Regions from separate parts of the Homo sapiens genome. Here regions 2, 3 and 4 are each linked to region 1. Evidence: promoter capture Hi-C in 16 types of primary human blood cells and fetal thymus (Javierre and others, 2016). All regions are on one chromosome and are shown on one strand. Each heading gives the region's core, a stretch centred on a gene start or on the middle of the fragment in contact. The rest is flanking DNA. Distances are from core to core; before and after follow the strand shown. Region 1 holds the start of CEP192 (centrosomal protein 192). Region 2 overlaps RNMT (RNA guanine-7 methyltransferase). Region 3 overlaps LDLRAD4 (low density lipoprotein receptor class A domain containing 4). Region 4 overlaps LDLRAD4 (low density lipoprotein receptor class A domain containing 4).

Region 1 (6,890 bases), core at 3,906-6,405:
CTTGGGCCTTTCCCCGAACCTCAGGTATTCAACCGCCTCCACAACACTTCCACTTAGATGTCTAACAAGCACCTACATTTGAATCTTGATTCCAATTAATTCCCATCCCCTCAAGAAATGCCTGCCCTTCAGCCTTCCCCACCAGCGAAAATGACAACTCCAACACCTAGCTGCTTAGGCCAAAAACCGTAGTCATCTCTGAGATCCCTCTCACACCCCATCACGTGCAATCCCTATGCAAATCTCTAGAGTTATACATTAACAACCTGCCCAGGACCTTGCTGCATCCCCCCAACCTACCCCCCAACCCTGCTATGACCTTGGTCAGGCCACCACCACTTCCTGCCTGGACACTCACTGCAATAGCCTTTGGTCTCCAGGCCTCCTCTCTGCCTCCCCTAGTCTACTCTCCACACACGAAAGTCACCCTATAACATTACTGAAACGTCCTCACTCCTTAGCTCAAACCCTCCCTCCACTGGTTCCCCATCTTATTCAGAGTAAAAGGCAGTCTTTAAGATGGCCAACCAGGGCCCAGATAATCTGTGACTTCGTCTCCTCTACTCTTCTCCCTTGCTCACTCCATTCCAGTCATCCTAACCTCCCTGCTGTTCCTGAAACATGCTAAGCCAGCTCCGCTCCAGGACCTCCACCCTAGCTCTGACCTCTGCCCAGCCCCTGATGCTCCAGCTATTCACACATTTTGTACCTTCACTTCTTTCAGTTCTTTGTGCAAATGTTCACTTAGCTGTCAGGCCTTGCCTCCTCAACCTACAGATTTGAACAGGGCACTTCCCAACCTCCTTTCCCTGCTTTCTCTGTTCTATAGTACTGACCACCACCTGCATGCTATGTAACTCACTTGTTATCTCTTTTTCTCCCCACATTAGAATGTAAGCTCTATGAGGGCAGGAACTTTGCCCATTTGGTTTGCCACTGCATTCCCAGCTAGAACAGTGCTGGCACGAGACGCTCAATAAACTTGAGTGAATGAATGAATAAAAATTTTCAAATTATGTCAATATACAGCAAATTCATCACCATCATATAAGCACTCTGCTCTCAGATCATGCCCCAGCATTTTCTTCTCTTTGATATTTCCAACTATTCTCTCTTCTTGATTTCCATAAACATGTTCAAAATCCTCCCATGAGGCCGGGCGTGGTGGCTCACGCCTGTAATCCCAGCACTTTGGGAGGCCGAGGCGGGCGGATCACGAGGTCAGGAGATCAAGACCATCCTGGCTAACACGGTGAAACCCCGTCTCTACTAAAATACAAAAAAAAAATTAGCCGGGCGAGGTGGCGGGCGCCTGTAGTCCCAGCTACTCAGGAGGCTGAGGCAGGAGAATGGCGTGAATCCGGGAGGCAGAGCTTGCAGGGAGCCGAGATCGCGCCACTGTACTCCAGCCTGGGCGACAGAGCGAGACTCCGTCTCAAAAAAAAAAAAAAAAAAAAAAAAAATTCCTCCCATGTTAGGATGGAGGAGGCAGGAAACAACCTGCCCTGATTTTTCATTTGCATGTCCTGCCACCACCTTCTCACCTTCCCTTCATGGCCAGGCATCTCAGAAGAATACTCCATAATCCATACTTTCACAACTCATCTGACATCCTCTTCCTTTATTTGCTCCTCATATGTTAGGGTTACCCAGGATTCTGACCTCAGACTTTGCATCATGCAATTTACTTCTTACACACTAGGGATCTCAACTCAAATGTCTTCAGGAACAACTATTGTTAGAAAACAGAATTATAAGGACTGAGGTCAGCTGGAAATTACAGGCTTTACCTAAAACTAGTTAAATTCAATACACTGTTGTCAAACAAAACACATCTACTGGTGTAGTCCATTCCTGAGGGCAAAACATGTCTATGTTCCAAACACACCCTGAAATAGTCTATATCTTCCTATCTCCATTACTACCACCTTACCCTACTGAAAAGCCTCCTCACCCTTTTCCATGTTTTTATTCTTGCCACCCTACAATTAATTATCCAAGAAGCAAGCAAAAAGACCATTAACTATGAATCAAGTGCCATGCCTCTCCTGAAAACTCTATGAGGCCTGTCACTCTCTCCCACCCTCTCAGGCTCATTCACCACATACTAGATTTTCTATTCTTGTAATACCCCCAAAGCCCACCCCTACCACAGGTCTAGAATATTCTTCTCCCAGATCTTTGCCTAGCTAGCTCCTTCCTGACGTTCACCTCAATTTATATGTTACCTTCTAAGAGAAGTTTATCTCTTATTATTAAGTCAAACAGCGCCACAGTCAATCACATCCATTTAAATTTCTTCAGCATTTATCACTATTTATTCTTGTATTTATCTGTCTTCTTCCAATGAAATAATTTCTCCCTAAGAGCAGGGGCCTTGCCTATCTGTCCATCACTATTTCCTTAACACTTAGAACAATGCCTAGCACACAGCAGGTACTCAGTAAGTATCTGTGAAACGAATGAATGACAACATTCTCAGTCAGTGGGTAAACTCTACTTTAACTTTAACCCCTATAAATTTAGAAGAGCAGCTTCTTGGGGAAATGTCTATCTTGTTCATCCACATATTCCCAATACCTGACAGAGAACTGGAAATACAAATTGAAAAAACGAGTTTTAAGAAAGAATCTATAACCCCTAGTTTGCTGATACTGTGTCTATTATTAGGTAATGTGCTAATTATTTCACATACATTTTTCTAATCCCCATGTCAAATTTGTAAGGTAGCCATCATCCCTATTATTGAGGAAACTGAGGCTGAAAGAGAGAATTAAGAGACGTTTCCAGTCCACATAGCACAAATGAGGCCAGAGGATTCCCACCTAGGCAAGTCTGGCCCCAGGGTATTCTTTCCTCTGCACTAATTCCACCTCCTGGTGGTGCATGCCTTGGAGTCCCAGCTACTCAGGAGGCCACGGTGGAAGGACAGCATGAGCCCAAAAGTTTGAGGCTGCAGTGAGCTATGACCATGCATGTGAATAGCCACTGCAATCCAGCCTAGGCAACAAAGTGAGACCCTGTCTTAAATAAATATACAGGAGCATATGCATCAGTTATATGTAAATACTACACCAATCTATGTAAGGAACTTGAGCATCCAGAGGATTCTGGCATCCTGGGGCAAGGGCAGGTCCTGGAACCAATCCCATGGATAACCTGAGGGAACGACCATACTTCCAAATGGCTCTCTGACATCTACCTTACCCCCGAATGCAATACAAAATACAAAACCAAACTTGTTACCTTTCCTCCATTCATTCCCGCCGTTATCTTTAGTCTTCACCCAAATCCATCCCTATTAACTGGCAATACAAGCCTGACACCTAGGACCATCCTGATCCCTCCTGCTCTCTCACCAAATTCTAATGCTTCTAACGTCAAATACACTTCTGGAGCTGAGACCCACTTCTATATTCCTAATGCCCGTTGCCCATCACTTTTTATTCTGAACTATCACACGAGTCTCCCAACTAGCCTCCCCAAGTCTAGCCTTGTAATTACTAAGTTATTCATTCATATACAGACATGTAAACTATTAAAATTTATAGAAAACTCTTCAACAGTTGTCCCTATTTAGAAGGGCCTAATCCAAAGAAAACTCAGAAATTATGCAAAGGTCATTCATGCAACATTCATTATCAAACACAAACCATGAAGAACCCTCTACTTGGCACCAAGAATGCAAAGATAAATAAGGCAGCTCCCCTCAGGGAGCTGACAATCCCTGTCAACTACGATAGTGTTAAGTGCTTCAACAGAGCTTTGCTAAGGGTGCAAAGGTAACAAAACCCACGGGAAGATTCCTCAAGATGTAACCTAATACCTAGTCTCTTCTCCAGAAAAGATTACACTTGTAAACCATTCATGGACATAACACATTCCTAAAGGAAATTTCCTTTAATTTCTCACATTATTGCATTACCCACCCCTCCTCCATCATCTCAAGTGAAGACAATATTTTTCTTCTATCCTATTTGAACTGAGTGGCTATATTTGCAATTTCTCTTGCTATTTCCTTAAAGTAGTGACCTCAAATTTCACATCTGGACTCACTAATTACATTCCTAGGTACATAAAAGATTACTGACTATAGTCATTAATCGTAGGTCTATGTATACAATTAAACACATTTAAAAGCACACGCCGTGGAACCCAAAGCCGAGTCAAACTTCCCCAAAACTCATCATTTACTCTTGGCACTTTAAGATATACTTTAAAACTAGGTAGGCATTTGGTATATTATTGTTCAAGGCTTGCCGTTTTTGCCTAGAAAACTGAAATTTGGAGAAAAAGTTGATTTTGGAGCAGTAAAAACGCCAGTCGAATGACCTCAAAATAGTAAGAGCAAATGGAAATATGGTCATATAAACAGCTGTTCTCCAAACGACTGACTTGAAGAGGTCCTCATGTTTTACTAAACAAACTCTGAAAGTAACAGCAAAGTAAAAGTAGAGTGTATTAACATTCGTCTCATTTCACGTTCTGTTGATAATGAAATCATAGGCAAGGAATGTAGGTAAACTATTAGGAATAAATGAACGCAACCTAGCAGAAACCAAATCAAGTGAGTAAACGGAAGACAAGGGCATTAAGTTAAGTTAACAAGGTTACTTCCTGGGTCAGAATTTTAAACAAAAAGGAGGAACAGAACCGCCCATCACAGGGCACATAAAGGAAACATCACCGGTCACTTCACAAGCACACTGCAAGAAACTCCAGAGGGTAGCACGGAGAGGGCCTGTCCCTCAAGAGGTGGAAGTCCCCAGACAAGAGGGGAGGAAAGAAGGACGTGATCCCCTAACAGTCTGTCTCATCACGCCCGGCCAAAGCCCGATGACACAGAGGCGTGCAATTAATCCCAACCAGGCGGAGCTCAGCTCAGAGGCTGCGCCAGGCGCAGAGGCGCGGGAAGCGCGGCAGTCCCCTTGCTCGCGCCCTGAGGCCGCCCCACAGCCTGCGCCCCCACCCGGCCCAACCGTCACTGTCCCGTCGGTCCGGCAGCCGAAACGTAGGCCAAAGGTGCATGCGTCTGCCTCCCGCCTAGGCGCAGGCCGAGGCACCAGCGTCCCCCCTCACCGAGCCCGCGTCCCCGACTTCGGAGGGCAGTGTGCAGCGGGAAAGTCCACGGACTGAAGAGGTGTCCCAGGGCACTGCAAGTGCGCGTGCGCGTGGCCCCCGCACCGGCTGGAGCCCGGAACGGCCGTACCGCGCCCGCCTCTGGTTTACGTCTGTTCGCGGCACCAGGCAAGGGGAGGAGACTGAGCTGGCTTTTGATTGGACAGCGGGAAGACATGGGGCGGGAAGAAGCCCGGTGATTGGTGGGGACAGCGCGTTCCTGGATTTGAAGCGAGGAAGCCGCGCGCCCTGCGAGTCCGGAGGAGGAAATGGAGCTCTGCGCTGCGTGGGACCCGGGGGACGGCTCCCGTTGGCGCCGCCTTCAAGGTCTTGGCGAATTTGAAAATAATGCTTACTTTATTCAGTTTGGGTCTCCAGGGCACCGCCAGTCACTCTATGCGCAAAGAAGTATCCCCCGCCAACAAATCCCCCCCGATAGGTTTCGTCCTTCCGTGGGCAGATGCAGACCTTTCCTGTTGGTAGGCGCTGAAAGGCGTCAGGTTTCACCTTCAATCAGCTAATTCCTCGGGATCCAAGTTTCATGACATTTCGCCACATCTAGTCGCCTCTTTGTGACAGAGTAGGCTTTGTCTCGATTGCTTCCTACTTTTCTCCATCCTTCTTAGGCCACAAAACCCATCACCGCCATCTGCTCGGCACAGGCCCTTAACTACTTCACTGAGACCATGCCTTTCACTCAAAATGTATCTCAGTCTTTTTCAGTAAGGTCCCTTATCTCAAAATTTATTCCATATAGTCACAGAGGGAAAAGAGTCCCTCTTTTCCAAAGCTAACTCCTTAACTTCGTTCAAGTTACTGAAAGATGTCCGGCGCACCTTGGAGGAAAGAAGAGGGAAAACGCAAAGTTTAGAAGTCCCTAGACCTGAGGTTACTTGGTGGGGAAAGACGTCTGTTTACTTGACCACTTTCTACCTCCTGCAAACATGGCTCACCTGTCATTCTTGGATATCCTCTCCACTGGTTTCCTTCTCTCTGCCTACAAAAATGCAGCACCTCTCTACCCAAACACACACACCACACACCCATACACCACACACACCACTCACACCACAAACCACACACACCCACATATGCACCACACACACGTGTGTGACACGTATACACACATCCATACACAACACACACCCACATACACATCACCCACACACCACACACACCCTCCACACACAAACACCACTCAAACCACACACCCACACACACCCCTTCCTTGATTCTGTTTCATCACCTAATGACCATTCTTGTTTCCTTCCCTTAATGGTCTCCACTTTTTTTTCCATAGAGGAAGCCAGGCTTCCACTTTTTACACCTTATTTTGACGCATTTCATGGTGTCTAGCTGGGTCCTTAAAACTTTATCAGGAATAGACTCCTAATTGTCAAACTCAGTGATATCTCCACAGTTCGACACCTCTTCTTGGAACCCTGCAGCCTTGGTATTTGCAAAGAGTAATTACCTTTATTCTACCTTTGTCCACACTCAGTGAGCAAAGATAAATGCAGAAAATCTCAAGATTTTCTGAATCCCAAAAAAGTAAGCCAAATGCTCAGCCCTAGAGCTGACCTCTCTTAACCTCTTTTTCTACAAAGCGGTCACACATTGGAGGTGAACTGCTTAAATGTGTCTACAGGTTCCGGACTGTCACTCACACCAGATCCTTGTTAATAAATGTCCTTCCTCCATAAATATCCTCAAGTCACCACAGCACTCCCCACAACACTCAGTAACCTGATAGGACTCTATTAACAGAGATC
Region 2 (7,098 bases), core at 1,382-3,881, 750 kb before region 1:
ACTTGGTCAAGAAGTAGGAAAACCAAAGGATTTTTCAAACTACATGCTATTACTGCTTCTGTCCCCAGACAGCCATGGTAACAGGTCATATCCCCAAGTGCAGTACTGGGAGAGAAGGAAGACTGCTGAAGAACTGTGAAGGCCATTAGCACTACTTCCTCAAACATCTCCTGTGCACTCTGGTTTCTCTGCCTGTCCTCTACCAATCTTCTTCCTTCCCAAAAGGCCCTTTATATACTCACTGCACTTGGAATGCTTCAATACTGCAGTTCCCATCATGGACTGCATTATTCACTGAAATAACATGCCATAAAATTCTTGTTATCCCATACCCTACCATACCTAAGTAGATTTTGACATACATTACACAAGTGAATTCACTACCCATATGCTAAGAGAAAGGCTAAATAATTGACCACTATCATGCAAAGCACCATCAAATAAAGGCAATATGCTAAAGATATGCTGTATATGTGGGACAGGGGGACTTATCCACACATAGTTTTGCTAGTTTTCTCCTCTTCCTTAAGACAAACAAAACAAGCATCCATTCCTAATATAAAGCCAATAAAAACATTCTTAGATCTAAAGTATAGGAAATATAACTAATGAGGAATATGAAATTTTACTGATTATGTCTCTTAAAAGACAATTTAGAATTTATAAAAAGTCCTCCCACTCAACATTGTGGGAGTGGCTGGGTGCAGGTGCAACTTCAACAGGAGACTTCTGTTTGAGTATCATCTACAAAAACTGAAGAAAATCTAAAGGTTAGTATGCCTTGAGCAAGTCATTATCCTCTGAGCCTCAGGCTGCCCACTAAAAAAATGTGAAAACTGGCCAGGTGCAGTGGCTCACACCTGTAATCCCAGTACTTTGGGAGGCCAAGGCGGGAGGATTGCTTGATGAGGCCAGGAGTTTGAGACCAGCCTGCGCAACACAGCAAAACTTCATCAGCACAAAAAGTTTAAAACTGAGACAGGTGTGGTGACACACGCTTGTAGTCAGTTACTCAGGAGGCTCAGGTGGGAGGATCACCTTCCAGAAGGTGAAGGCCTCAGTGAGCTGTGATCACATCACTGCACTCCAGCCTGGGCAACAGAGCGAGATCCTGTCATTAACAACAAAAAAAAAAAAATAGGAAAAAAATTAGTGAAAAGTTACCATTCTGCCTACTTCATGGAGGTAATTATAAGGATAAAGAAGTCAGAGTATGCTTAAAGTACTTAAACTGAATAAACTCTCTAAGGAAGTTTAATGTCCATTTGATGAATATGATTCTACTGATCAATAATAAAAATGCTCACTGAATATTTTAGGTCTGTCCAACCAAACATTGTCTGGTAAGGAGAAAAAGGAAAAACAATCAATGGCTGTGTAATTGAAGCTTATATAGATACCTTCACTGCTGCATTAGGACAGGAGAGGTCTCAGCAACAACACAGTCTAAAAGACTGGAACCCTGCTAAAGAATTACCATGCAATAAAATTATGTATGGTTTGAGCTTGTCTGGACACTGGCCAGGAAGGTTCTAAATTACTGTCGTAACCAAAAGGCACTGTTGTAAAGAACTGGTTCTCAACTTGGGGCAATTTTGTCCACCAGGGGACATTTGGCAATGTCTGGAGAGAGTTTTCTGGTTATCGTAACTGGGGACAAGAGTGTTACTGGAAGGCATCTAGTGCGTAGAAGCCAGGAATGCTACTGAATATCCTACAATGCACAGCATCCCACAGCAAGGCATTATCCAGAACAAAATGTCAACAGTCCTGAGGCTGAGAAATCCTATTTTAAAGCAGTACTATCCTAGAAAACAGAATTTGGTAACACCAGTACTCATTCTTTCATCAAGTATTTACTGAGCACTCACCATGCAGTTTCTGTATCAAGCTCCGTCCTAGGTGCTGAAGAGCGTAATACACATAACTATTTCATGTTCAGATGGCCTTGCAAGGATCTCAAGAACAGCCAAACAAGTTCACCATGACTGAAATTTGTACATCTTTTCTAAATACTCACCTCCAAGGCCTGCATTCGTTTTAAGAGCATTTTATTTTCATTGTTCTTAATCTTTTCTTCGTAGAATTCCAGAAATGTTTTTTTGTAGACTAGTTTCATATTGTACTTCTTTGCCATTCTGTCCAAAAAAGAATACTTAATGAAAAAGCTTCCACATGTTTGTAATTCCTCAACTTACTTTTGTACAGCAATGACATCTTCTGGACTTAACTAAAAAAGCTACCACTCCCTTGATAAATTCACAATACAGTAATACAAAATGAATCAAGAGTAACATATCACACCTAAAAGAAACATGCATTCTAAATCTCAGGGGTTTCAGAGGGCTCTATTAGTATAACATAAAGGTCAGGAAGTAAATGAGAGTCTCCGGAGCTGTGAGATGCGGAAAAAGTGTAGGAAACTCTTTTCTACTGATTCCATTTCACTTTACTTGATCTCTCACAGCTGCACTGCAAACAGCTGCCAACTTCCTTCTTAAAGATTCACTTTCATCTCGACTTCTCTGGCAAGATACACTATTAATTTTTCCCCTACATCATGAACTGCTTCTTTGCAGGTTTTTTTTTTTTCCTTTTCACTTACAGGTTTTTTTTTACCCAACTTCTAAACTTCAAGGTTCTGTAGAGTACAGTCCAGAGCCCTACTCACTTCCACCCCCCAGCTATCGGTAGTTCAGCTGTCTCTCATCACTCATGGATTCTACTGCTTATTAGAAATCTTCACCTGCATGTGTCACTGGCACTCTCTAACGTCCCACATCTAAGGCTGAACATCACTGCTCTTTTACTGCCAATCTTTGCCATTTCAGTAAATCCACCTAGTGATCCATGCCATCTCCCCTTCTCTTTTACCCACTGTGCTCAATACACATCACTAAGTCCTTTCTATTTTACCTAGAAAACATCAATTTCAAATAGGTCCACTTCTTACCTCCTGCATTTGGCACCATCCTGCTGCTTCAGTCACCATCACCACTCAGTGGCACCAGTCCATAAACTCACTTTGCTTGTCCCCTGCTTCCATTCTTACTCTCCCTCAATGAATTTTCCAATCGCAGCCAGATTAAGCTTTCAGAAATGCGGACCTGAGTCATGTCACTACCCCCTTAACACCCTCCACTGGGCTCCAGTGCACTTAGGATACAGAACATGGTCTCGAAGACATTCATCTGTAAAGGAATGCTGCCTCATTTTGGGACAGCCCCCGATATAAATCAGGATGGGCCTTCTTTCAACATCTTGGACTAGCCTAGCTTTCCCACTGCTGGGCCCTCACACACGCTGTCCTCTTGTCAGGAGCATTCTTCCCTCCAGTCCTCAGCTGCCCACCTACTTTTCCATCCTTTAGATCCTGACTCAAACATCGATTCTTTACAGGCACCTTCCTTAAATCTTAATTATATTAGGTCTCTCCGTTAGACTCTCAGGTAGTTTTTTTCCTCACTGCATTTGCCAAGTTTATAATCATGTATCTGTAGACAACAAGAGGGAGCCTGGAGATGACTTCAGGCAGCAGTTAAAGGAAGAGTGGAAGGAAGGGGAGAAACCCTGAAAATTAGGTGGGAAGGCTCGTGTACAGGGTGGCATTTGAGGGGATAGGGTAAGGGCAAACACTGGAGGGCCACTGAGGTTTCTATGTAAGAGGTATACGTAAGGCAGGATTCTGTTACTTCAATTAATCCTCCTTGGAAAGGCAACATGAGCAAAATTAAGTCTTTTATTCCAGGCAGTTCATTTTCTTTTGTAAATCTCTAAAATAAGCCTTTAGAAATGAAACCAAGTTTTTTATTCCAGGCAGTTCATTTTCTTTTGTAAATCTCTAAAATAAGCCTTTAGAAATGAAACCAAGTTTTTTATTCCAGGCAGTTCATTTTCGTTTGTAAATCTCTAAAATAACCCTTTAGAAATGAAACCAAGTTTTACACCTAAAAAAATCATGATTCAAAGAATTGAGGCCCAATTTGAATAAGTTTTGCCACACAAAAAGCTTATTTCTGTTAAATTTCTTAATGAAATGGCAAAAAGGCATCTCAAAACCCCCACACATTTTCAGATTCTATTTCATCCAATACTGTTTCAATAAATAATCTTTTAAAAAATTAGATATTAAACTGATGACTTAGGTTTACCATCATTAGGCAATTTAAGTCAAAAAAAAAAAAAAAAAAAAAAAAAAGAAGACCGCTAGGTCTTGTTTAGCATTTAAAACAAATCTTTTGTTTTATTATCTTTTTGATTATACTAAAATCACCAAACTGTTAACTAAAATCTCAAGCTAACATATTAAACATACTCAATAACATTCCACAATTAAGTTCTTTTTTAAATAAAGTTGAAGAGCAGTAACATTTCCCCAGTTTATTAGTTTTAAAAATTAAAAGGAAAATGTAATTGATATTTTTAAATTTTGTAAATGGTTTATATTTATAAAATTATGCACAGTATTTTCCTCATGTTCAGTCACAATGCTACTTGGCTTTCTTATATTATTGAATAAGCTATTATAGAACTCCTGAAAATACTGTAACCCTAATTTTACAGACTGACTGAGTTACAATTAAAATAAGCACCAAGCAGAAGTAAGCAGACAATATACCTCTTCTTTTTCTCAGTTAATATTCAAAACAAAAGATTTTTGTTTCTAAAAAGTAGAAAATCAAGTTCAATCAATCATGACATGGCCTACATTTAAGCTGACTTTTATACTCTCCCCACCGGGGAAACTCTGGAAACCAAGGTGTATCACAAGGCCTTGAAGCCTTACCTGGTAAGGCCCAGTTACCCCCAGCTTTTCCTGTGTCTACAGTTTGCCAGGACTCCTAGGAATTCAGGCACATGGGAGAATACATTCCTGAATCAGGATTTTATCATCAACATTGCCTGTGAGACATAGGCAATTTCAAAGTTATAGTGAAATGCAAACAACTTTTAATACTCATCTCTGTCAAAAGGAGGATCTTTGATTTATTTATTTATTTATTTATTTATTTATTTATTTATTTATTTTTTTTTTGAGACGGAGTTTCGCTCTGTCGCCCAGGCTGGAGCGCAGTGGCGCGATCTCGACTCACTGCAAGCTCCGCCTCCCGGGTTCATGCCATTCTCCTGCCTCAGCCTCCCGAGTAGCTGGGACTACAGGCGCGCGCCACCATGCCCAGCTAATTTTTGTATTTTTAGTAGAGACGGGGTTTCACCGTGTCAGCCAGGATGGTCTCGATCTCCTGACCTCATGATCCGCCCGTCTCGGCCTCCCAAAGTGCTGGGATTACAGGCGTGAGCCACCGCGCCCGGCCGGATCTTTGATTTATGAAGACTCATTGTTTATCATCAAAGTTACCAGTAGTCACTAAAAAAAAAAAAAAAACTTTTGCTATTTGCAGTGTCAGGCATTTTGTGCCACAAGCTGAAGGCAACTGGTTCCCTTTTTCACCCACAGGATTAAAAAATTCCAGGAATGAGAGAAAACTAAGTTAGGCTATTATGAGACCTATGGCAATAATCCCCTAGATGTGAAGCTAGTCTTGTTTTGTTTTTTTTTTTTAAAAACACAAAAACAAAAAAACAAGATTATACTTTTTCTTTAGCCCTCATTTAAAATAAAGAGTAAAATAAATATTGCTTTTCCCCGCTTTTCTTTCCCTTAAGACAAAAAGAAAAGAGTGAACAGATTAATGACTTCTTACTCATTTAGCAATGGAAAATAGACCAAGAATTCAGGAACATCCACAACACCTTCCAAGTTGAAGTCATATTTGCAGCCAAATAAAGGATAATCTCCTTTCTTCTGAAATTTCACAGTATATATTTCATTTCCAAATGATTCTGTTTCTGAAGCTTCAAGGCGTCTTCTATCAAGGTTATCCCCCAACCAAAATAAAAAGATTAAAATTGTGATTAGTGTAGACTTATTTTGATCAGATTATGCATGTGAAAAACTACATGATGCACACTTGATTAGCCTTTTAATTATATCTGGGCTACCTTTTTTTTTTTTTTTTAAAGTGACAAGGTCTTAATCTGTCATTCAGGCTGGAGTGTGGTGGTGTGATCATAGCTCACTACAGCCACCAACTCCTGGGCTCAAGTGATCCTCCTGCCTCAGCCTCCTGAGCAAGGACTACAGGGGCGTGCCACCATGCTGGCTAATTTGTAAATTTTTTGTAAAGACAAGGTCTCACTATGTTGTCCAGGCTGGTCTCAAACTCCTGGCCTCAAGCAATCCTCCTGCCTTGGCCTCCCAAAGTGCTAGGATTATAGGCATGAGCCACTGCACTCTCCTGATTTGAGCTACTTTTAAGAAGCAATATACTAAAAGATCACCAACAGTCACACCAATAAAATTAAGCTGGAAGTAGGTATCACTCTCATGACAGCTGGTTCATCTCTGTGCCTGTGTATCTGACCTGCAGTTTGTCTATCACTATAACTTCAGTCTCTAACTTACACACAAAGATGAACTGTTAAAAGTTCACCTGTAAATTTGTCTATTGAATTTAAATTTTGAATGTCTACTCAAATATCTTATGAAAGTGTTCAACACTTATAAGATTAAAATAGCGTATTTTAATAAAATCTACCTCTGATAAACATTTGCTACTTAATACTGAATATTTTATAAACCACAATATATTTAGAAGTACTTACATCAATTCAAAGCTATTGGGAGTAGTACCAATAAAATAGCCCCCAGGGCTAAGTCTCTCACACGCATTTCTCAGCATCATGTCAGCCTGCTCATAAGACTCAAATGAGTAATGACAGACAAACTGACAACTGCAGATGTCAAAACACATTTGTGGGTCACGAAATTTGTCAATCAGAAGTTCCTGAAACAAATTAAAATGAGTTAAGATTGTGAGGTAACTACAACAAAGATTAAAAACTTTTTAGTAAATTAACTTCTAGAATGTAAGGTTCTTCCTTTCCCTCACAATCTTTCCCTTGTACAATAAAGGACACACAGAAATCATGCATGTATTCTAGTTTAACAGAATAATTTGATTCCCACTTTCACAGTATTTAAAAACTGAGGAATTCTGAAATCATGTTTAAAATATATTAGTCAATTATGACATT
Region 3 (7,022 bases), core at 4,107-6,606, 640 kb before region 1:
CCTTTTACTTTTTTAAATTTAATTTTTATTTAGTATTATTATTATTTTTGAGACAGAGTCTCGCTCTGTCTTCCAGGCTGGAGTACAGTGGCACGATCTCAGGTCACTGCAACCTCCGCCTCCCGGGGTCAAGTGATTCTCCTGCCTCAGCCTCCCGAGTAGTTGGGATTGCAGGTGCGTGCCCCCATGCCTGGTTAATTTTCGTATTTTTAGTAGTGACAGGTTTCACCATGTTGGCCAGGCTGGTCTCGAACTCCTGACCTCAAGTAATCTGCCTCCCTTAGCCTCCCAAAGTGCTGGGATTACAGGTGTGAGTCACTGTGCGCAGCCAGTATAACCCTTTTAATATACTGCTGAATTTAGTTTGCTAGTATTTTGTTGAGGACTTTTGCATCAATATTTATAAGAAATATTAGTCTATGGTTATCTTTTTCTGCTGTGTCTTTGTCTGGCTTTGGTATCAGGAATGCTGGCCTCATCTCATAATGAGTTAGGAAGTGTTCCCACCTCTTGAAATTTCTAGAAGTTTAAGAAGGATTGATGTCAATTCTTTAAATGTTTGGTAGAATTCACCACTGAAGCCATGTGGTCCAGGTTGGAGATTTTAGACCATTGGTTCAATCTCCTTACTAGCTATAGATCTATTAAGATTTTCTATTTCTTCATGATTCAGTCTTGGTAGGCTGTTTCTAATATCTTTTCATTTCATCTAGGTTATCCAATTGGTTTGCATACAATTGTTCGTAGCACTATTTTATAATCCTTTTCATTTCTGTATTTATTGGATCATTTTTCTTCCAACCAGTACATCTCATATTATTAAAGGACAGTCGTCTGCAGCCATGACTTACTGAGGGTTCCCTTGTGCTGCACCATGGGCTGTCGCCTGCTGCCATGCGTCCACGTGTGCAAGGCCACACCACGCCCGAACCCTGCTGGGCTTATGCTCTCAGCTACACTCTCCTTTCCACACACACACAGAGGACCCCAGGAATGATCAGATGTGGGGACTGGAAACAACCAGGGAGAGCACTGAACACAGTGTTTTCCACCATGTGCTTTGCAGCCTCTTAGAGAGCTGGAAAATCCATTTAAGTGGGTCACAGCCAGCATTCCAAAAACTGAAACAGAACAGAAATGATCTGAGCACACTGTAAGTATTGTTTTGTAAAACCTCTGCCTTAATTGCATTATAGGAGGCTTTTGTGTTGTGATATAAAATGTATTTCTTACTGTTCTTCATGGCAAGATACAGATTGAAGGCCTCCGAATGAAGCCAGTTATCCCTCATTTTAGATGGGGGGAAACTGAGGACAGAGGGCATATTCCTCTCTAGGCACCTCGGTCAGTCTGCGGTAAAGCAAGACTACTGCTGGGTATTCTGATTCTACCCAAGGGCTAACCTCCCAGTGAATGAATGTATTTTATGGCCTCAAATAGTTGGAAATCTATTTTTCCCCTGTTCCACAGTGAGAATTTCAAAGAAGAGGTGAAATTGATCTTTGGATATTCAGCAACACCTTTGCCTTCTGATAAAATCAATTTTCCCTGTTTTCTCCCTTTTTTCATGCAGCCTCTCCACCATCCTGATATTTTATCACTACCGTCCTTTCCACTCTAGATGGCAGTCACAGCCTGGATGTGAGGCCAGTACCCCTGGCTGTCAGAGACTGCACCTCCCCCTTTCTTCCTCCTGGGGAATCCATCATCAGACTTCTCAGATTCAAGATCCCCCAACTCTGCTCAATCTAGGGCACGTCCCTTAAGAGAAAAGACAAATCATCTAGGAAGGTCTGCTGGAAGAAAAGGAAGGGAATCCTTTCTATTTCTGGGACAATGCAATGGGCTAGCGGGGAAAAGCAATATGAGGTGCCTCTCCCAGCTTGGTGCTGGGGTTAGTGAGCAATCGGACTTCAAGAGGAATCAGCCTGGGAATGAGAAAGTTCCAGGCAGCAGGAAAATGTGGAACCACACAAGATCCAGGCAGGCATCATCCTGATTTCAGCACCAGTTGCCTCGTCTCACATGTGAGAAGAAGTCAGAGCTCAGAGGGGATTTTCTGTGACCTTCACCCAAGGTCACAGAGCTGCTGGGGCTTTGCCAAGAGCCAGACCCCAGCCTGGTGAGCCTCCCCAACAGGGGCCACCCAGAGTTATGATCATTAAGATAATTTTTAATCTTCTTCTCTTTTTTTTTTTCAGAACAAACCACACCAACTTTCAAGGACTAAGCAAAAAATAAACCAACAGATTTTACTATTAGATTATTAATGCTAATACCTTATATATTTAAAAGATTACTATAAATTTGTTGATAAAAATGTTCATACATTTTATTTAAAATTATTATTTTAGCCACCATAGAAACCATGTTCAAATGAATTACTCTGGGAGTCTATAGATGCCCAGAACATTACTGCCTTTAGCATCAGTTTACATGATCAGAGGATGTTTTGTAATTGCAAAGGTAATACATGAATACATTCTTACCATAAAAGTTTTACTGCACAGATCAGTGTTCCTTTGTCCTTACTTCCTTCCCAGGCACAGCTGTCAGTTTGCTGTGGGTCCTTCCTGACCTTTCTCTACAGATCAGTTTGTAACTCGGACGTCAGTCTCACTAATTGAGTCGTGCTTGCCTTTGCACCAAAATTGTATCATTTGGTTTGATCACCCATATAATGAACAAGACTTAACTCTAAATGGATTTTGGCTGGTACCAAAAATCAAATCTATCCCCAAGAGCAAAACTATTTGCTCTTTGCAAAGGAAGATTTGCCATTGTGGAGAAGCTTTTAAAAAATTTCCCTTGATTAAAAAAACAAACAAACAAATAAAAACAACCCAGTCAGGTGCAGTGGCTCAGGCCTGTAATCCTAGCACTTTGGGAGGCTGAAGTGGGAAGATCGTTTGAGGCAAGGAGTTCAAGACCAGCCTGGGCAACACAGTGAGATCTTGTCTCTACAAAAAATTTAAAAATTAGCCAGGCATGGTTGCGCGTGCCTATAGTCACAGCTACGCAGGAGGCTGAGGCAGGGGGATCAGTTGAGCCTAAATGTTCGAGGCTGCAGTGAGTTATGATCATGCCACTATACTCCAGCCTGCGCAACAAAGTGAGATCTTGTCACTTAAAAATAACCCCAAAACCTGAAGGTAATTCCCAAACATTCTGAGCAGTGCCAACATCAGTAGAAGGACTATTTGAGACACTGTCACTTTAAAGATAAGCATTGACTCTTCCAAAGCTCTGCCCACTGTGGTTCAGGTGGGAATCTGCGTGCAGCTGGGGTCCAGCATCCTTATGCAGTTTCTGCCGGGCCGCTTGGCCTCCTGTTTCCCTTAATTGAAGGGAGATGTTCTCATTTTGAGGTGATGTGAAATTGTCTATCCTCTAATGCTTCAATTAGACATAGCAAAGGGCAAAACCTTTCAAATGACCACCTGGGCAGCCTGATAATTGGAAGTCCTTGCTCACTCAGACAGACATGCTGCGGCCAACCCGCCGGACCCTAAGCTCTTGGAAATGCAGTTTCCGTGAAATGCAGTAACGGAGAGCTGTCACTGGACAACCGACAAACACACACATCTGGTCTGTGGTGCAGCAGGGTCTGCCTTGCCTGCAGGGAAACGGTCCCCTGCGGTTCATCCCCACAATGATGCCAGAGGAAGCCTGTGGCTCTTTTCTTTAGTCTGGAGTGTCAGAGGCAGACCGAGTACAACTGCATCAGTAAGCCCTTTAGTCCACTCCTTCAAGCCTTACTGAAAATCATTCCTTTCCATCGTTTTCCACATGCTTTTCTAAACGTATGAGGTGGGCAGGAGTGAGAGCAGCAGGGCACAGCGAGCCAGCGCTCCAGCCGCAGTGGGAATGAACAGTGTGGCGCTGAAACCCCTGCTCCCTGTGCCCTCCGAGGGATCCCAGGACACTGCCTGTGGGTTTCTCAAACACCCCTGAGCCTGGGGCCCACCTCAGAGCCTCTATCTGCAGGGGAGGGTAGAGGGACACTGCCCAGGTAGAGAAAGGCACTCGTCACATATGGCACACCCAGAGGTCCCCTCACTGTGAGTTCTGAGCCCCAGCACAGCGGGCTCCTGGCTGTCAGACACCTGCCCAGGACCGTCTGCCCTCTGGCCACCGCTGCTCCCAAGGCCAGCAGAGAGGCTGCTGGTGCAGGGCCGAGCCTCAGAGAGCGGGGAGCCCATGGCCACCTCTGTCCCTCTGGCTATAAGCTTTAGTCACAGAGGAGGGCCTTGCCTGGGGAGATGACTGGACAGCAGTGGCCACGAGTGACCATGTCAGGCTGGGCACAGGACACGCACAGCACTGTTGACCCAGACACGTGTCTCAACTCCTAACCAGGCAGGAACAGTATTTACTTCCACAAGGACCTTCTCACCCATTTTTCTGGGAACCAGTGGCCCTCTCAGTCTATCTTGGTCTTCAGCCTTGCAATAGAAGCCTGAGTGCAGAAGAAAATTTTCTCTGAAAAACAACCCCCACGTGCAAACCCACAGATGGCAATGCTGCTGCCCGGCACTGAAGGGTCCCCAGCGAGAGACAGGTGACAGCCCGGGCAGCACAGGCCCACTCCATGGCAGCCACCTCACAGCCCCAGCCTCAGGGTGTGGCCCCATAGGCTGCTTTTTCAAGAGAAGATGGAAACTCCAATTTTCATGTGAAATCTCACAATTTTTATTTTTTATTTTTTTATTTTTGAGATGGCGTCTCCCTCTGTCGGCCAGGCTGGAGTGCAATGGCGTGATCTCAGCTCACTGCAACCTCTGCCTCCAGATTCTCTTGCTTCAGCCTCCCAAGTAGCTGGGATTACAGGCACGTGCCACCACACCTGGCTAACTTTTGTATTTTTGAGTAGAGACAAGGTTTCACCATGTTGGCTGGGCTGGTCTCAAACTCCTGACCTCAAGTGATCTGCCCACCTCGGCCTCCCAAAGTGCTGAGATTATAGGCGTGAGCCACCGCACCCAGCCCCAATTTTTAAAAGCTAGATCAACTTAGGTTCGAACACCCTGTGGGGCAAACCAGGTACACAGCCATGCTCTAGGCTAACTCTGTGGCTTCTGCAGAGAGGGACTTGTGGGGAGAGCTCACCCCATGTCAGGGCACTGTGGATCTGAGGAGCATGAGTTTCTGCATCAAGAGGGCTGACAGCCACCAAGTGCTTGTCCTCCTCCGCAACAGCCAGGGCCCCTCCCAGTGTCAACCCCAGGGAGCTGGAGGAGCCCAGCTGTGCTGGGTGGGGCCTGGCTGCTCCTCCTGGCTATGAAGAATGGGCACCTGGATTTTCACAATCGATTTAATCCCTGTAGGAGTTGATAATGAAGAGATGTGTGATGTGATTCCTTTTGTTAATTTTTTAAATTGAAATTGCTGTTTCTATAGGTCAAAATGGCTGAATGTTAACAATTTCATATGCTTCAATCTGGGTAAAGGTCCCTGTCCCTCTCCTGCCTCTCCCTCCATCCGCTGATGGCCAGACCCTTCTGCCTGCATGCCATCCCCTACCCCTGGGCTGTCCACACAGGCCAGGCTGGACCCTCTGGGCCAGGCTGCTGGCAGTCAGAAAAGGTCACCTGGGCTCCCTCAGCTCCAGCAAGAAATGTTCCAGCAACTTGTTCAAATAGCTCTCCGGGCTGTGTCTAGAATATTCATGCCCCTTTACTGCTTTCCCATTACTGAATGGTCTAAGATAATGAAAAGAAATCTAGACAGTCTCAATGCTCAGAAGTCACACAAACCAGGCTCCAAAGAAACCAAGCTCAGGCTACCTCAGCAAGAATGCACAAGGATGCAGATCCGGACCCGCCGCTGCTATCTGCTATGATGTAAGCATTTGCTTTGTCTGTGATGTAATTCACACCTGAGTTGCTAGTTTTCATTTTCATCCAGAAATCACTACTTCCACCACATTCAGGCCCAGTAACATCCATTCCTTGGGCCCCCCTGGGACACACAGTGTCTACCGCATGGCGACAAAGGTTGACTGGCTTTGGGACACCCATCACGTTCATGCAGCATGCACTGTCCCAGGCCAAGGGACATGGGAGGAAGGTGCCAGTGTCAGGAGGATGCTGGTAGAGGGGAGGAGGTTGCTGGTGGAGGGAGGAGGGCTCTGGTGGGGGGAGGAGGGCTCTGGCGGGGGGAGGAGGGCGCCGGCTGAGGGGAGGAGGGTGCTGGCGGGGGGAGGAGGGTGGTGGCAGGGGGAGGAGGGCTCTGGTGGGGGGAGGAGGGTGCTGGCAGGGGGAGGAGGCCTCTGGCGGGGGGAGGAGGGCGCCGGCTGCGGCTCCTCACCTGCACCTGCACAGGAGCACACCCTATGGGACAGGGACCAGAACTGGCTGAGCTGGGCACTCCCTCAGGAAGGGGCCAGAGAAGGCAGCGGGGCAGTCACCACTTCTCAGAACGGGACTCTCCGCAAGAAGCAGAGAAGCCAGGGCCACAGTGATGCTGTCTGGTTAAGCTTGGTCTGGCCCTTCCTTGTGGTCAAAGTGGAAAACCTGTAGAGGAGGCGAGGGGCCGCTCATAGCAGGGCGGGAAGCTTCCTCAGCCAAGTAAGGCTGCTGGCCTGCTCATCCTCCTCCTCCAAACCAAAACTCACTCCCATCCTATTGCCCCAAGCTATGTTTCCACCTCCACTCTCCAGGCTTCCAGCAGAAAGACGTAACAGTAAGTTTAATCAGAGTGTGAAGCCTAATCACCTAGAAGTTGGTTAATTCAATGCCCAGCACTTCTCACACCAGGTTTAAATAGAACATCATTTTCTAATGTGCTCATGGAGCCCTGGGGTGGGTCTCTACAAACAGGCCCTCACAGGAGGCTCCCCAACAATGCACAGGCTCCTAATGAGGCTGCGCTCCACAGAGGGGACAGGAGGAGCATCCAACCCCAGCTGCTGACTGGAGGGTGCTGAGCCGCCGCCAGGGCCTGGACTCCCAGGGCCTCGGGTGCTGCAGGAGAAAGGCCTCGGACATTGGTGCTGAGAAAGGAAGAGGTGCTTAGGGGCT
Region 4 (7,153 bases), core at 421-2,920, 650 kb before region 1:
AAAGCATCCCGTTCTCTGTTTTCCCCTGCCCACACCCCCATCCCAACCCCTGTCCCCAAATAAACACTGTTTGCGGTCAGACCAGATGGAAGTTTGTATCATTTCAGTCTAGTTTGCATGCAATTCCCCTAAAAGGAATCAGAAACAAAGACCGTGTTTGCTCATTTGGTTTTACTTATTTGTACCATGTGAAACTGAACAACACTGTGCGCAGGAGGGGCCCAGCGGCCGCTTCCCTTCTTGGTTTCTTTCTCCAGCTGAAGTGCACGTTGGAAGGAATCAGACCAGGTTCCCAGGCTTCCTATCTTTGCCTTTGATGGGTACTATTGTGCTCTCTGCATTGTTCTGCTGAAACTGCAGTCTGCTGCCCCTGTGTGCGTTGCTGCGCTGGTGATGGAGGAAAGAGGCGCCTGGGTGGTGGCCCATCACCTCGCTGTATGTGGGGGGTGGCCCCTCCATCCTCCCGTTACTGCTGCAGGTGCTTGCACTGATGCCCGAGTTGCTGCTGGGTGGGCATGGACCCCCGCTATACATAGCAATGTCTATTAAATCACTGTCAAATATGGTTCGGTTGGGTGGGGCCCTCACGGACTCTCGGTTGAGTTCCATCTGCTGTTCAGGGTCCCGGAGCTGCAGGGTGCAGGGCCCCTGGTAAGGAGGTGGCTCTTCACCGTCGGACAGGGAGATGGTGGGAGGAAGATCAATCTCGTGCTGCACATAGGGGTAGGTGGGCTGGAAGCGGCTGAAGCGATCCCTCTGGATGAAGGACGGCGCTGTGAACCTGTCCCTGGACCGCGGGGCATGCATGATCTGGAAGGAAAAGAGGAGAGGCTTGAAGACAGTTTGAGCGCAATGATGACCATAAATGTGTCAGAATCAAGGAAAGTTACGCTTGGTGTGTGTTCCTACCAGTTTGAACACCATCTCCCAGGAAAAAAAAAAAGAAAACAGGAAAATCCAATTCCAGAAAAAAAAGTGTACTTTTCTGATTCCTTATGACAGACCACTCACCTTGCCAAATCCCAGCGCATCCAGGAGGGCTGAGCAATGGAGAGCTGTGGGTAATGGAAAGCTTGGGCTCCTGGGAGTTTCTGTGCGTGCTACGTGTGCATTTTCCCCTTGGAAACAGAACACACTAGGAACTCCAAGAGTCACAGGGCGAAGAGCACTGCGGCCTGCACTTGGATCTGGTCACCAGTGACATCGTCCAGTCCTCGGCTTCTCTATAACTTACGAGGACAGGACAGGGCTGCCTGCTTTCTCAGGTCCCTGCCAGCTCTAGAACTTAGAACCTATGGTTCAGAAAAGTAAGGAGGGGCTCCGAGTTTTTATTTTTATTTAATTTTTTATCTTAATTTTTTTTTTTTTTGAGACAGGGTCTGGCTCTGTCACCTAGGCTGGAGTGCAGTGGCGCCATCTTGGCTTATTGCAACCTTAACCTTCTGGGCTCAAGTGATTCTCCCACCTCAACCTCCTGAGTAGCTGAGACTACAGGTGCACACCACCATGCCTAGCTTTTTTTTTTTTTTTTTTTTTGAGATGGGGTTTTGTCATGTTGCATAGGCTTGTCTTGAACTCCTGAGCTTAAGTGACCCACCCACCTCAGCTTCCTAAAGTGCTAGGATTACAGTCATGAGCTACTGCGCCGGCCAGAACTCTGAGTAAGCAGAAGTTATAACTTCACACAGTGGTACGTGGAGCAGATACAAAGCATTGGGTCGATTTATTAATTACTTAGAGAAGATCATTGCCAATTACTTTTTAACAAATTCCCCCCAAAATGACTGTTTTTTCTTTGTGGCTCCTAGACTTTTCCAGTTATCTGGAATCTGAATAAAAGTTTCCTGTAGTTATTTTTAGTCACTGACATGAAAAATATTTTTTACTCAAATAAATATGATTATAATAATTTATTTTTTCAAAATGAATCCAGGTAGTACATTTCTTACAAAATCTTCTCATTTGTTCTACCATCCCAGTTTCTTCTAGGAGACGGCTCTTTTATATACGTACATACACACACACACGCATATATGCATAGATGTGTATGTGTGTATACATATATGTGTATATACATGCATTTAATATACACACATATCTACACACGTACATACAGATATTGATTTCTCTCACACCAATATTTTTAACTTAAAGGCAAAAACATGTTATTTTAAAATCCACATTATTACACTTGGAGATGTGGGAATGAATCATGCTATGATATTTATAAACCATGCCCACTTGCCAAGGCACATTAGTAGAAGCTTACGGGATCATGTAAAGATAAGTGATTCTCAAATTGTTTTTGATAAGGAGCTTTAGACTAGCAGGAATAATCCCTGGAAGATTCTAGGGGAAGTCCCCTCCCGCTTTTGACCAAAGTTCTAGGCAATGCCTTCCTCCAAAAGTGTCAGCCCACGTGGTGAGGCCCCTCCCCTTCCACCCCACGTGGCAGGGACACGCCCCCTTCATCCCCACCCACCCCCCCCGCCCCCCGCAGCCATCACCTCCTGGGGCCCCTTACCTCCGAGGCGCCCAGCCGCGGTGCGGCGCTGTCTGAAGGCCACAGGCACCCTTCCTGGCGGAGGGGAAGGGGAGGAGAGTGGGGGGAACAAGAAACAGAGGAAAATCATTAGCCCCGCCGCACCTAAAAACATGAAGCACAACTTCTGGAAACGGGGATCTGCATAAAACGTGGAGCGAGGCCGGGCGCCATGGCTCAAGCCTGTAATCCCAGCACTTTGGGAGGCAGAGGCGGATGGATCACGAGGTCAGGAGTTCGAGACCAGCCTGGCCAACATGGTGAAACCCCGTCTCTACTAAAAATACAAACATTAGTTGGGCGTGGTGGCGGGTGCCTGTAATCCCAGCTACTCGGGAGGGTGAGGCAGGAGAATCGCTTAAACCTGGGACGCGGAGGTTGCAGTGAGCCGAGATCTTGCCACTGCACTCCAGCCTGGGCGACAGAGTGAGACTCCGTATCAAAAAAACAGAAGAAAAAAAAAAAACAAAAAATAGATAAACAAACAAACAAACAAACAAAAAACGTGGAGCGAGAAAGAGCCCGTCCCTTTTCAGACCTCTTGTCTACATGGAGGGCTGTGAACAAAAGGAAACATGGAAAAGTTGAACTCCTGGCCAGATTAGATTTGAAGTGGAATATGGCTCACTCTCTACACCTGTGTGCTTGAAATACATTCAAGATGACTGTCCAACCGCATTCAGTGGCCGCCCGATGAGGGCAGGCTGGGTTGAGGAAGCCCTGGCAGAGGTGGCCCGGGGCCCGCCCGTGCCCTGCCCGGCCTCCAGCAGAGGCGCAAGTCCGCGCTCGCAGGTGGACGGCCCTTTCCGAGCCTGGGCTCAGGATCCTCCAGCGAGTGTCTTCTCCAGTCCACCTATTCACAGGGCAGATGCAACTTCACATCTGGTGAGTTAGCATCCTTTTTCAAAAACGTTTGGCCAGATTGACAAGGTGACAGGCCAGCCACAGGCCTCAGTAAAGGTTCTTTCCAAGGCCCCACGCGTGCTGGGAAAAAAAGTACGCGTGGTACCCTTTTCAGCCCAGAGTGTGGCTGTCAGCAGGGTCCGCGGGGCTGTCGGCCGTCACGGGAGAGCGCGAACTCAGCGTGTAGGGGCCCGCGTTTGGGGAATTCTCGGAAACGGGCGGGCTGGGCCATCACTGAGCCTCCGACGGCCCCGGCGCCAGCAGCGAGGGACGGCGCGGAAGAAACACCGAGCCCCGCGTTTGTCCAACACGGCCCTTTCCTAAGATACTCGGGGACATCCTGGAATCAGTGGCAAACGTATACGGCGGTCCAGCTGCTCGGAGACGAAGGGTGGGCTCAGGGACCGCCTGTGACGGGAGGGAAGGGCCCGGCCTGGCAGGCACAGACGAGGGCGGGGGTCCGGCGCCAGCGGGGCGGAAGCGGGAAGGGGGCGGAGGCCCTCCCACCGCCCAGGGCCCAGGCTGGGCCCGCAGGGGCGCTCCTCGCTCCGGGAGCCCAGTCAGCCGTAGCCAGGAACGCCGCCAGGTCCATCTGCGGGGCACTCAGAGGGGCTGAGCGGTTCCTGAAAACGTAGTGACTGTCCCCAGTGGCCTTATTTCCCGAAAAACCAGCAAACCCGGCCAAGTGCCCACAGGAGCCGCCGTCCAGTCCGGCTGCGCCCCCGAGGCCCGGCCCTCGGCTGACCCAGCGCCCCGCTCCCCTTGCCGCACCCCACGCCGACTGGCGGCCCCGCCAGCCCGGACAGGAAACCGCCAGAGGCGCGCCTGCTGCTCCTCTGGGCCGCCGCCTCTCTCCCTCACCCCAGTCCTCGGGCCCCGCATTTCCCTCGCCCGCCACAGGCCCCGGCCTCCCTCCTGTTCTGCAGCACTGAGTGTCTGGGCAGAGGCCGCTGCCCTAGGCGGCACCTGCTGTGGCTTGCCTGAATGCAAGGACTATCTTAACCTATCTAATCAATCGATGGATCCATCTATCTCTGTCTAATCTGTTTCTCTCTATTCATTCATCCATCTAATCTATCCATCTATCCTTCTAATCTATCTCTATCCATTTGTCTCTGCCTATCCAACTTATCCATTCATCAAGCAATCTAGGCTATCTATCTAAATATCTGTATCTCTCTCTCTCTCTATTTACCTATCCATCCATCTAATCCATCTATTGAGATGGGGATCTCGCTATGCTGCCCAAGCTGATCTTGAACTCCTGGGCTCAAGTGATCCTGCCTCAGCCTGCTAAAGTGCTGAAATCACCATGCCCAGCTAAAGGACTCTCCTCCTCTCTGGGAAATTCACAGCACCCACAACTAAGAATTGTTGCTGTTGACATCTCATCAGACTTGTCTCATCTTTTCCTCTATATGTGTACTTTAAAAAACTACACACGTAATACATGTATACATTCTCCCTTGTACCACACACAACCAAAGCCATTTTAGAGTCCCAAATCCACCCGTATGCTGGTGCTGCACCTCTGCACTGTGTGTTTTTAATAATGCATTTCCCAGACCTACATGCGTGACACACATTGTTTAATTTGTTAAATAAGTAACTAAATTCTTTCTTAAGGCCTGTGAACCCAGGTGCCCCTCTTCTCCGTTCCCTCTCTCATTGGCCTTATCCGGCCTGTCGGCAGGTCTTCTAACGCATCCCACAGAGAGTTCCTGAGGCCAGGAAAGGGGTGCAGAGGGTAACGCAGGGCATGCCTGCAGCCCTGGGGTCTCCTCCCCGCCACACCACCTTCCTCAGCCTTGCTGCCCGGGCCAAGCCAGCCCTGGACCTTTCCCAGGCCAGCCCACCAGTGTAGGTCCCATCTGCTCCTGTTGCTCAAAACAAGGGCACAATTGTTACCTATTCATTTTGCTTGCTGGGGTGGAAAAAGGTGTTCTGCCCTGAGGTTCTCAAAGCCTGAGAACCAAGCCTGGAGCAGGAGAGTTGGCCACTGGTAGAGAGGAGTTCAGGCCATTCCTGCCTTGGGACATCTGCCAGACGGGATGGCCTGGAGATGGGAACTTTTCCTGCCTGGCTTTTGTTTTTTGCAGGAATGTAACAGCAAAATTAAAAATCTAAAATGGGAGGAAATGCATCTACAGTCCCATCATCCTAATACTTGAACGGATTTCATTTTTTTTTTTTTTTTTTGAGATGGAATCTCGCTCTGTTGCCCAGGCTGGAGTGCAGGGGCGGGATCTCGGCTCACTGCAAGCTCCGCCTCCCGGGTTCACGCCATTCTCCCGCCTCAGCCTACCGAGTAGATGGGACTACAGGCGCCCGCCACCACACCCAGCTAATTTTGTTTTTTTTGTACTGTTAGTAGAGACGCGGTTTCACCATATTAGCCAGGATCCTCTCGATCTCCTGACCTTGTGATTCACCCGCCTCGGCCTCCCAAAGTGCTGGGATTACAGGCGTGAGCCACCGCACCTTGCCAGTTTCTTTCTTTAAGTGCTTTTCTAATGCTTGTTCATTTGCATATATTAAATTTATACAGTTGTAACCATAATGTGGCCAGAGTTGTGTATTCTCTTCTTCACAGAGTATAACATAAGCACTTTCCTCTATCACCACCAGTTTTTTCCAGCTTTATTGAGGTATAATAATATAACAAAAATTATGACTACATAATAATTTATTTAACTATTTACTGACAATTGCCCCCTGCCCCAATTTATTTACTTTTATAGGAAACTTTTTTTCCCAGGCCTTTCACCCACACAGTACATGGGGACATTATAACTACAACATGCTGTGGTGGAAGAGCTTGAGGCCAAAACCCGAGAAGGCTGGCATTCCAGCTCTGTGCCCCAGGCTGCTACCCAGAAAACCCAGATGGGAAGACTGACCGGAGTTCTAGAAAGGCTGAATCCCAACCACCCCGTACCATTAGCTGATGCTCGCTCCACAGCCTTCTCTGGTCATTCCACCAAGGCTGTCACACGCTGATTGTTGGCAAGGTCACCGTCCTTAGCCCTTAAACCTCTCATGCTGCTGATGAAGCCTGCTGGCTCCTGCTCCATCTCTGTCAAACGAGGGTGTGACTCTGTGACTGGTGTCCTCCAAGGGGCTTGTGCCAACTGAGAGAGTGCAGATAGCTGAGTACAAAGATGTGTCTCCCTTGTCTAGGTTGGGGGTCTCTTCACTCACCCCACATGCTATGGAGAACATTTTCAGGGAGAAGGGGGCTCACTACACAGCTGGCTGCCGCTCAGATGGCAGCATTCCCGCATACTCATTATGGGGCCAATTTTAATCAACAATGAAGGCACTGATGTTCTTGGCTAATGCTTACATTGTTGTATCACTCAAAATAAGCTGTGAAATAAGATAATACTTAAAGTAGTTCACAGAATTTTAAGCAATAGGAACAAAACTTTGTTAATAACTTCATACAGGCTGAAATGCATTCCCTGTCTTGTAGGCTATTTCCTTGTAATAACAACCAAAAGGGAGGCAGCCATTCACCCAGCTGTTCATTAATGACCTCACTATACATGTACGGAATACTTCCTTGCAGCGGGTCTCAGTCCTCTTCCATTGCAACATGTGAGCAGATGTGCACATGTCCAACAGATACTGGTGCTGCATGTCCCCAAGGGCTGGGAGACAGGGGCTCTGCACAGTTCCCAGGGCTCATGGAGTCACTCTAAACCC

Evidence for each region. The method cuts DNA at HindIII sites, captures the fragments that hold promoters and counts their contacts. A CHiCAGO score of 5 or more calls a contact.
Region 2: a fragment that was not itself captured here is called in contact with the fragment with the promoter of CEP192 in region 1 in 1 of 17 cell types (naive CD4 T cells); the score reaches 5.4 in naive CD4 T cells.
Region 3: a fragment that was not itself captured here is called in contact with the fragment with the promoter of CEP192 in region 1 in 1 of 17 cell types (fetal thymus); the score reaches 5.1 in fetal thymus.
Region 4: a fragment that was not itself captured here is called in contact with the fragment with the promoter of CEP192 in region 1 in 3 of 17 cell types (erythroblasts, total B cells and naive B cells); the score reaches 6.1 in erythroblasts.

What each region holds. Positions count from the first base shown.
Region 1 is chr18:12,989,627-12,996,516 of GRCh38, reverse strand. It overlaps CEP192 (centrosomal protein 192), which reads right to left and starts at 5,155. Exons shown (of 45, transcript NM_032142.4): 1 at 5,080-5,155. RefSeq lists a silencer at 4,894-4,973 and enhancers at 5,454-5,833, 6,224-6,836. The HindIII fragment of the contact is 8,933 bases long and covers 1-6,890 here.
Region 2 is chr18:13,741,260-13,748,357 of GRCh38, reverse strand. It overlaps RNMT (RNA guanine-7 methyltransferase), which reads right to left. Exons shown (of 12, transcript NM_003799.3): 7 at 6,667-6,848; 8 at 5,706-5,870; 9 at 2,021-2,138. Among named protein-coding and RNA genes, the nearest start is that of RNMT, 18 kb to the right of the region's middle. The HindIII fragment of the contact is 922 bases long and covers 2,171-3,092 here.
Region 3 is chr18:13,624,954-13,631,975 of GRCh38, reverse strand. All of the region lies in intron 5 of LDLRAD4 (low density lipoprotein receptor class A domain containing 4), which reads right to left. Among named protein-coding and RNA genes, the nearest start is that of MIR4526, 17 kb to the right of the region's middle. RefSeq lists an enhancer at 5,361-5,861. The HindIII fragment of the contact is 2,249 bases long and covers 4,232-6,480 here.
Region 4 is chr18:13,638,784-13,645,936 of GRCh38, reverse strand. LDLRAD4 (low density lipoprotein receptor class A domain containing 4) reads right to left here. Exons shown (of 7, transcript NM_001378100.1): 6 at 2,525-2,578; 7 at 1-810. The coding sequence ends at 280. Among named protein-coding and RNA genes, the nearest start is that of MIR4526, 31 kb to the right of the region's middle. The HindIII fragment of the contact is 1,192 bases long and covers 1,075-2,266 here.